2 separate regions of the Homo sapiens genome follow, and region 2 is linked to region 1. Evidence: promoter capture Hi-C in 16 types of primary human blood cells and fetal thymus (Javierre and others, 2016). All regions are on one chromosome and are shown on one strand. Each heading gives the region's core, a stretch centred on a gene start or on the middle of the fragment in contact. The rest is flanking DNA. Distances are from core to core; before and after follow the strand shown.

Region 1 (4,942 bases), core at 1,202-3,701:
GGTGTCCTGGCAAGATTAGGAGACTCTAAAGATTAAACGTGGACATTTTAAAGACAATTGACTTTGCTGACAGCTAAGAATATATAATGTACACTGCTTTTGTGAATGTCTCAGTAATGATACAGGATGTGTACTTTTGCTCCTAAAGCCTTCTTGAAGCAGGAAGTGCCATGGTCTGTATCCAGCAGCAGCTCCTCCTTTATAGGTGCTACTGAGATGCTCACCTCTATTCTCTTTTTGGGCTATTATAATAGGCTATGTCTTAAAGTAACCTTCAAAGACAGACACCTGAATTACAACTGCAGAAGTATTATATTATGGGGCCACCTATGGCCAAATGAAATGACTGTCTCAAACTTTCCTTCATCTTCTCTGAAAATAGGTTAACTCTGGTATTTACTTTATTAGATATAAAATATGGCAATTCAAAAATGACCTATAGCAATTTTTTTTCAGCATTTTGTTTGTGCCAAGTGTGAGAAACCCTTTCTTGGACATCGCCATTATGAGAGGAAAGGCCTGGCATATTGTGAAACTCACTATAACCAGGTATTGACCTTAGTCACTGGATGCTAGATAGACTTTTATGAACCTAAGCTTATCAGTAGTTTAGCTACAAGGAAATCTCTTGGAAGATGTACATTGTTCAGTAGAGATTTGTTTTTAACTTTTTATTTGGGAAATAATTTCAGACTCAGAAGCTAACTATAAAATATACAAAGAATACCTGTATGTCTTTCATTCAAGTCCACAGTTTGCTTTATCATTTCCCAAGCTCAGTCTTCCTGTGTAAAACACATAGTTACGTAAATATTATATACAAGTACGATGGCTGTTTTGCCAATAAGTTCATCATACTCCTTTATCCCTAAATACTTCAGTGTATATTTCCCAAGAATATGGGACTCTCTAACATAATTGTAGTTATCAATATTGATACCGTACTCTAACCATTTATTCCAGTTTTGTCACTTGAGTCAATATCCTCACAGCATTTTTTCCACTCCCAGACTGGACCCAGCCTCTGGCTGTGATGTTTCTTTAGCCTTCTTAAATCTGGAACGTTTCCAGAGTCTTTTAAAATTTTTGATGACATTGACATTTTGGAGGGATGCAGAGGGCCCCTAACCCCTTTTTAATAGACTACTTTCCACTTGGGTTCACCTGGTGCTTCTCTGTGCTTAGATGAGGTTATACACAGCAGGTTGTGGCCTCATACAGTGGCAGGGCATCTTCTCAGAACCTTGCCCCTGGAGCATTTTATACCTCTCCTGCCCTGGTGATCTCCCAGGCATGGTGCTGGCTGATAACATCACTGTGAATTACAATTTCCTTCCCTCCTCTGTAAGAAAGAAGCAATCTGTGGGCAATCATTTTATGACCATGGAAATGTCCTGTTCCTCATCAACCTGCCCTAGATTCAGCACCCCTTGATGATTCTTGTCTCTGCGCCAGCTGCAAACGACACTTCTCCAGCCCCATGCCCTCCACCCATAGTCTGGTCCTCAGCGCTCTGCCTGAGCAAGAACCCACCTCCTCTCCCGTCTATAGGTTTATTCATTTATCTATTTCTTATCCATATGGACTCACAGATTTCTATATTTTGCATCACTTATTTGGGTGTTCAAACTGTCATCTGGAAAGTTTTTCTTTTAATTGATGAGAGTGAATTACTTTCATTGTAAGAAGTAAAAACTTGTCAAAGAACTTTTACTAAATTTCTCTAGTAGTGATAAATCCTCAATTTAGATAGCCAGCTATTTTTAAATGTTCAGTGTTCTAAAAATTCTAACACATCTTGAACTTTGACCACCTTTTTTTATTTTCAGCTATTTGGTGATGTTTGCTTCCACTGCAATCGTGTTATAGAAGGTGATGGTAAGTATCTGTGTGAGTTTTAGATTGGTGCCACTTTGACACAAAAACACTTGGGTAATGTGGAAATTCAGGTTGGTGATTGTATGGTTTGAAATGTGATCGTTATCAGTTACTTTTTCTCTATCTTTGGCGTATTTTCCAAGTAATCTGTAGCAGTAAGATGATAATATCAAAGAGTTGGATTTGTTACTGATTTATGACACTACTTTCGGCCACTGCTGCAGTGTTGTATGCCAGCAATCATGGGAACTGTCCCTGGTGGACCCTAAGACCTGTTTGTGTCCAGTTTCAGGAAGCTCTAGAACAACGTTTATTAGGAACAGTTTAATCTGCTATCGTAGTTAGGAAGAGGCACTTTAACCTGCACATGCTAAAAGCTGGCAGTTATCAGCAAGCATATCTAGGACTTACCACCCTTGTACTGTGGTAATTAGGCTGGGCTGATTGATTGGAACAGAAAGGAAGCAGCTGTGTTTGCTAAGACTCGCTAACACACTTCTGCCAGAGACTTCCTGGCAAAGTTTTGAACAATCCTGTTTTCAGCATGATTCATGGCTCCCTGCAGACATCACCTAATTCAGGAAATACTTTTGAAACACTGTTCATGTGCAGTTTGTGAAAACAATCCAGGAAAACAATCTTTAGTGCCATTGAAAATAAAACTTACCTCCCTCCTCTGTGAAATAGATGCCAGGTGAAAGAAGCTGCAAAGGAAACTGTCTTCTTATCATCAGCTCTGGAAAAAAGACTCCTACAGGGGCAAATAAGTTAATGTCTGGATTTTTGAAAATTATTTACCTAGTTCATATTTCCATGTTGGGCCAACAGCAGTAGGGACAGAAACAGCAAGCTCACCTAAACAACATGGTGCATGGACAGTTGCCACATGTGCCCAGGCCAAGGGGGCACAGTTGCTGGTGTAAGACATGGCACACATCATTTATAACTTCACAGGATACTTAAGGATGGGGGAAGATTAAAGTCAGCCCTCCGTATCCAGGGGCTGGATCCAAACATCCGTGGATTCAACCAACTATGGATCAAAAATATTTAGAGAAAAATAACAATATAACAGTACAAATAGTACAGTATAATGACTATTTACATATCATTTACATTGTACTAGGCATTATAATTAACCTAGAGATGATCTAAAGTATACGAGATAGGACCAGGCTCAGTGGCTCACGCCTGTGATCCCAACACTTTGGGAGGCCAAGGCGGGCAGATCAACTGAGGTCAAGAGTTCAAGAGCAGTCTGGCCAACATGGTGAAACCCCATCTCTACTAAAAATACAAAAACTTAGCTGGGTGTGGTGGTGCATGCCTATGATCCCAGCTACTCGGGAGGCTGAGACAGGAGAATCACCTGAACCCGGGAGGCAGAGGTTGCTGTGAGCCAAGATCACACCATTGCACTCCAGCCTGGGCAACAAGAGCAAAAACTTCGTCTCAAAAAAAATAAATAAATGTATACAAGACAATGTACATAGGTTATATGCATTTTATATCAGGGACTTGAGCGTCTGAGATTTTGGTATCCTCACAGCATCCTAGAAACAGTATCCTGCACATACTGAGCAACAACTGTATACATAAAGGTTGAGGGCCGGGTGTGGTGGCTTATACCTGTAATCCCAGCACTTAAGGAGGCCGAGACAGGAGAATTTCTTGAGGCCAGGAGTTCGATACCAGCCTGGGCAACAGAGCAAGACCTCCATCTCTACAAAATAAAAAATTAGCCAGGTGTGGTAGCACACACCTATGGTCCCAGCTACACAGGAGAACGAGAGGAGAAGATTGCTTGAGCCCAGGAGTTCGAGCTGTGATCGCACCACTGCAATACAGCCTGGACAACAGAGCGAGACCCTGTCTGAAAAACAAAAGAAAAGAAGCTCTCAGGAAAGAGGTTCTTGGCTGGGCATGGTGGCTCATGCCTATAATCTCAGCATTTTGGGAGACCGAGGCAGGTAGATTGCTTGAGCCCAGGAGTTCAAGACCGTCCTGGGAAACATGGCAAGACCGTGTCTCTATAAAAAATACAAAAATTAGACAGGTATAGGCCGGGCGCAGTGGCTCACGCTTGTAATCCCAGCACTCTGGGAGGCCAAGACGGGCGGATCACAAGGTCAAGAGATTGAGACCATCTTGGCCAACATGGTGAAATCCCGTCTCTATTAAATACAAAAATTAGCTGGGCATGGTGGCACGCACCTGTAGTCCCAGCTACTTGGGAAAATGAGGCAGGAGAATCGCTTGAACCCAGGAGGCGGAGGTTGCAGTGAGCCGTGATTGCGCCACTGCACTCCAGCCTGGCAACAGAGCGAGATTCCGTCTCAAAAAAAAAAAAAAAAAAAAAATTAGCCAGGTGTAGTGGCATGCACCTGTAGTCCCAGCTACTCAGGAGGCTGAGGTGGGAGGATCACTTGAGCCTGGGAGGTTGGGGTTACAGTGAGCCAAGATTGTGCCACTGTACTCCAGCCTGGGCTATAGAGCAAGACCCTGTCTCATTTAAAAAAAAAAAAAAAAAAAAAAAAGGTTCTTGAGAACCTCCACCAAGTGCCACAGACACAGTCGTAGTTCTGTTTTGGAGTTGAAATTCTAAGCTGCCCTGCTCCCCATACTGATGTATTTCCATGTGACCAGATCTCTTTCCTCTTTCTCCAGTGGTCTCTGCTCTTAATAAGGCCTGGTGCGTGAACTGCTTTGCCTGTTCTACCTGCAACACTAAATTAACACTCAAGTAAGTGTACGGTTTTGTCCAGTGTGAATCCTAAGACTGAAAACTTTGGGGAGACACTTAAAAAAAATCCTAGAATTTAGAAAAAGAGAATTATTTGATTTCTTATTTCCTCTTTCTGTTCAGGCCTTCTGAAAGTAAAGGTTCTTCCTTTAACTGTTCCCTGTTCTTTCTTCTATTCCTTCTTTGTCCTACTCAAAGGGATAAGTTTGTTGAAATTGACCTAAAGCCAGTCTGCAAACACTGTTATGAGAAAATGCCAGAAGAATTTAAGAGGCGACTTGCCAAACGGGAGAGAGAAGCAAAGGATAAGGACAAGCAGAA
Region 2 (4,942 bases), core at 1-2,500, 390 kb before region 1:
GATACTGGCAGACACTTTAGTAGACTTAGGGACTTTAACTGCAGAGAAAATGTGAGGTTGCACTAAGAACTGTGAATCAGCCCTATGGGGCTGAAAATTGACAGCACTGGGATAAGTGGAACTGGAAAGAGAGCAGAAGTAGAAAAATAAAGTTCAGCCGGGCGCAGTGGCTTATGCCTGTAATCCCAGCACTTTGGGAGGTCAAGGCGGGCAGATCACCTGGGAGCAGGAGTTGGAGACTAGCCTGGCCAACATGGTGAGACCCCGTCTCTACTAAAAATACCAAAAAAAAATTAGCTGGGCATGGTGGCGCACGCCTGTAGTCCCAGCTACTCAGGAGGCTGAGACAGGAGAATCGCTTGAACCCGGGAGGCGGAGGTTGCAGTGAGCCAAGATTGCACCATTGCACTCCAGCCTGGGCAACAGGAGTGAAACACCATCTCAAAAAAAAAAAAAAAAAGAAAAAAGAAAGAAAAAGAAAGTTCAATTTATTGGGAAAAAAAGAGCCCTTTGGAAACAAGGAGGAAGAAGAAGTGTCGGCAAAGAAGCATTAGGAGGTTCAGGGTCAAAGAAGACAAGGAAAGCTTTGGCAAGAAGGGCAGATGGGGTGCAGAATTATGCTTCAATTCCAGAAAGGAAAGCACTGGGGTAGATACAAGGTTGGGGCTGGCAGAAGAGTAGCAGTTCAGAGATCATTAACACTTGATCCATTTAATTTCCCAGGTAACCAAAGACACCATGGAATATAATCTGCCTCCACTAAAGTGTACCTTTTGTACAATAAGGCAAAGAAAAAATAAGTACACACCTAAGCTCTAGACTTTTGTTCTATCCTCTCTGCATTTTCGGTGTGGATGAATACAACTTGGGAAGAAAGGAAAGAAGAACCAGCAGTTTTAAGCACTTACTATTTGCTCTGCAAAGTGTATTCATCAACATTGTTGCTTTCAATCTTAAAGCATGGATTGGAGACAGGCAGTATTACCCACACTTCATAGATGCAGAAATTAAATCTCAGGCTAAGGAGGAAGGAAAAGGGAGTTCACCAAATAAGCAGGAGCCTACCTGAAGCCTGATGCATCTGGTCCTAGAGCCAACCTTCCATTTCCCCCCAGCCCCCACCTGTTTAAGCTTCGAGGCCAGTGGGAGGAGGGAGGGGCCAGGCAGCTGAGGGCCAGGAAAGATGTGAAAAACTCTAGCTGGTGACCGAGAGGAGGAGTAGAGTGTGCCCTTAGTTCATATGAACTAGAGGGAGTTGGTATTTGCACAGCAGTCAGGGTCACATGAGTGATCATGGTACAGTGAGAAGTTCTCCCTCCCAGGGCCAGGTCACAGGGTTTGTTTCTGTTCAATCCGGATTCTTCCAGTAAAAGCTTCAACTTCCCACACTGAAGCTGAGAGCCTCCCAAAGTGCTGGCTACCTGCTGAGCGCCCCCGTAACTCTGACACAGTAGTAATTTGAGCCTCTGCAATTGCCGTCTGCTTCCTGTGAAAGTCCTTTCCGTGCCCACTGACCCTTGAGTGGGCCTTTGAGCTGCTGACTTTCAGCTGGAACTTGAAGGTAAGAATATGGCTTAAAAGAAATTCTGTACCTAACTCGTTAATTTATTTTTTAACCTTTAGCCACATAGGTGTGGCTTTACAGATGCATTTATTCAAACCAGAAAAGATCCTAAGAATCTGATAAAATAATATAAAAGAGTTTTGTTAACAGCCTCCAGCCTAAAAATTCAGACCTAGAAATTCAGGACCCCCCTCAAATCACCTCCAAAAGCTCTCTCTCCTGTAATACTATCTCTGTCTCCCACCCTGATCTTTTCCCAAATACCCTCCCTGTCCCATCCTCCTCCAGGGCCAGCTCAACTTCTCTGGCCAAGACTATTTCTTCTTCCATGACAGCCCTCCTCTTATGCCAGCCATTGACTAAGACACATGCTGGGCCTGCAAGGGGACTGAACCAGATCCTGTGCTCCAAGGGTCCAGACTTATAAGCAAGTAATTGTAGGACGTGGAGTAAGACCTATAAAATTTGCACACAAAATACTATAGGATCCCATGGAAAGGAGTGATTACTTCTGTTTACAGAGTCAGGGATGCCTCCACAAAGGAGGCCATAGTGATCTGGCCTGATATGATGAAAATGTCCCTGCTGGCTGCTCAAGGGGAAATGTATGTGTCTACATGCCTGACTCTCCAAGGGCAGGAACCATGTGCTGATGTGGCCCAGCAATGAGGGGCCTGGGGAGGGTGAGAAGGACTTGGGACTTCTCCTGTGGGAACTGGCAGATCCCTCTGCTCCCACTGCACTACCCAGCTGCCTCAATCTCTTGCTGCATCTCCTTCTCCCAGCTTTAGCCAGGTTCTATCACTCCCCGTGCAGGCCTCCAACAAGAGCAATACAGTGGGATCCATAGTTCACTGGACAGCCAAGCCCTTAACCGCCCTGGTCCTCAGCAGCAGCAGGTGCCCTTCCACACATGTTCACAGCTGTGCCCAGGCCCTCGGTCATCAGCTACCTGCCCAGAGCACAACGCCTACCACAGAGTTGGTCAATGTGTTGCGTGGATTATTCTCAGGGCATTAGTTCAAGGCCAGAGCCCTAAGCTCACATGTACACCTGCCTACAGGTGTACATTGGGAAGTCCCATAAATACATCAGACTCAACCCCAGAATTGGACTCACCATCCCCTCACCCCCACCCTATGGAGGACCTTCTCACTGTGTCCTTACATGGTCTTTCCTCCATGTGCACACATCCCTGGTGTTGCCTTGTGTGTCCTAATCTCCTCTCATTACAAGGATACCAGATTGGAATAGGTCTCATCCTAGCAGCCTCATTTTAACTTAATCACCTATTTAAAGACATTATCTCCAAATACAGCCACATGCTAATATACTATGAATTAGGACTTCAACATATGAACTTAGAGAGACACAATTCAAACCACGATAATGTCCGTCTTAGTCCATTTTATGTTGCTATAACAAAATACCTGAGGCTGGGTAATTTATAAATATAAGAGGTTTATTTTGAATCATGATTCTGGTGGCTGAAAAGTCCAAGAGCATGGTGCTGGCATCTGCTCAGCTTCTCGTGAGGGCCATGCTGCATCAAGACATGGTGAAGAAATAGAAAGGCAAGCAGGCATGTATAAAGGGACCAAACTCACCCACTTCTGGGAGATGGCATTAATCTACTCATGTGGAATCCACCCTTATGGCCCAAACACCTCTCACAAGACCCCGTGTCCTAGCACTGCCACACTGGCAGTTAAACTTCAACAGAGAGTTTTGGTGGGGACTAACCACATCCAAACCACAGCAGTATCCAAAAAGTGTTTTGTAGTTTTATGTTTATATATATGTATACTTTTTGTTCATAACTATGTATAAACAGTTTTCTATCACTATCACTGCCATAACAAATTATCAAAAATTTAGCAGCTTAAGACAATACAAGTTTATTATCTCACACCTCTGTAAGTCAGAAGTCCAAACAGGTGTCTCTGGGTAAAATCAAGGTGTTGGCAGGGCTGCGTTCCCTTCTGGAGGGTCTGAAGAAGAATCCCTTCCAAGCTCATTCTGGTTGTTGGCAGAATTCAGATTCATGTGGCTGTAGGATGGAGGTCCCATTTGCTTGTTGGCTGAGGTTCATTCTCAGCTTCTGGAGGTCATGCCTTGTCTTGTGTTCCCCTTTGTCTCTAAGCCATCAATGGCAAGTTGAGTCATTCTCATGCTTCCAAACTCTCCAGCCACTTCTTCTGCCACACGACTCTCTGACTGCTCTTCTACACCCTTGTCCACTTTTAAGTGCCCTTGTGGTCACATTAGACCCACCGGGATAATACAGGACATGCTCATTGCCTTAAGGTTCTTAACCTAAATTCCATCTGCAAAGCCCTTTGCCACACAATGTAATGTATTAGGAATTAGGACGTGGACATCTTTAGGGCCATTATTCTGCCTACAACAATATACATTTGAAAAAGACAGATAGAAATACATCAAAATAATAACAACTCTTGTGTGATAGATGTTTTCCTTGTACATTTGGACTGTTTCCAAAGTTTCTGCAATGTATAACTTTAAATTCACAATAAAAAAAAACAAGAGGCAATTTTTAAAGAAGGAACATAGGATTCGTATACAGATGTTGGCTGCGATCCTGGGCAAGTTATTGATCGTGTGACTCTCAGCTTCCTCACATTTATGAGGGTGATAATTATTCCTTCCTAATAAAATTGTCATATGAATTAAGAAAGAAAAAGAAAAGTCCACGAAGGACCTAACATAGAAGGCCTGCAAGAAATGTTTGTTCTTATCCCTCCTCTCCTGAATTTGATCATACCATTATCTCAGGAGTACTGTCCAAACTCCACCTTCTTTGATGTATTATAAATACAACTGCTTCTCATATTTGAAAATTTTCATAAATAATTTGTCTTTCGTTTTCCAAAAATTGTCTTCATCTTAAAGGGCTCAGCTCAATCTGGAAGCAGAAGCCACCATGAAAACTGCCCTCACTAATCTGGGCACCTAGTTTTCTCATCCATTCCATGAAGCAGCTGGGCCAGATTATTTTATTCAACCTCTAGCAAGCATGTACTGTTACATTTTCTGTAAGGACCCTTTCAGCTCCGAAGTTCTATCACTCATTTTCAGCAAAAGTTAAAATAAATTAATGTATACAAGGCCTCAGCCCAGCGTTGGCAAATTGACGTGTTCGATAAATGTTAGCTTTTAACTACTATTTCATTAGTAGTAGTAGTAATAAATGTCTTCTGGAACCCCAGTAGCCAGTTATCCTTGAGTAACAGTGATTTACATCTTCTGCTTTCTCCTTTTGGTGCATTTAAAAGTCTTCCCTCAATACAACAATGACAACACACACACACACACACACACACACACACACACACACACACACACACAATGCAAAAC

Evidence for each region. Contacts are between HindIII fragments. The CHiCAGO score rates a contact against its expected background, and 5 or more counts as called.
Region 2: a contact is called between a fragment that was not itself captured here and the fragment with the promoter of LIMS1-AS1 in region 1, in 5 of 17 cell types (M0 macrophages, M1 macrophages, total B cells and 2 more). The highest score is 8.6, in M0 macrophages.

Annotation. Positions count from the first base shown.
Region 1 is chr2:108,676,150-108,681,091 of GRCh38, forward strand. It overlaps LIMS1-AS1 (LIMS1 antisense RNA 1), which reads right to left and starts at 2,452. Exons shown (of 3, transcript NR_149074.1): 1 at 2,290-2,452; 2 at 1,165-1,342; 3 at 646-781. LIMS1 (LIM zinc finger domain containing 1) reads left to right here. Exons shown (of 10, transcript NM_001193483.3): 7 at 457-549; 8 at 1,830-1,878; 9 at 4,546-4,621. The HindIII fragment of the contact is 5,789 bases long and covers 596-4,942 here.
Region 2 is chr2:108,287,510-108,292,451 of GRCh38, forward strand. SULT1C2 (sulfotransferase family 1C member 2) reads left to right here and starts at 1,386. Exons shown (of 8, transcript NM_001056.4): 1 at 1,386-1,561. The HindIII fragment of the contact is 242 bases long and covers 1,130-1,371 here.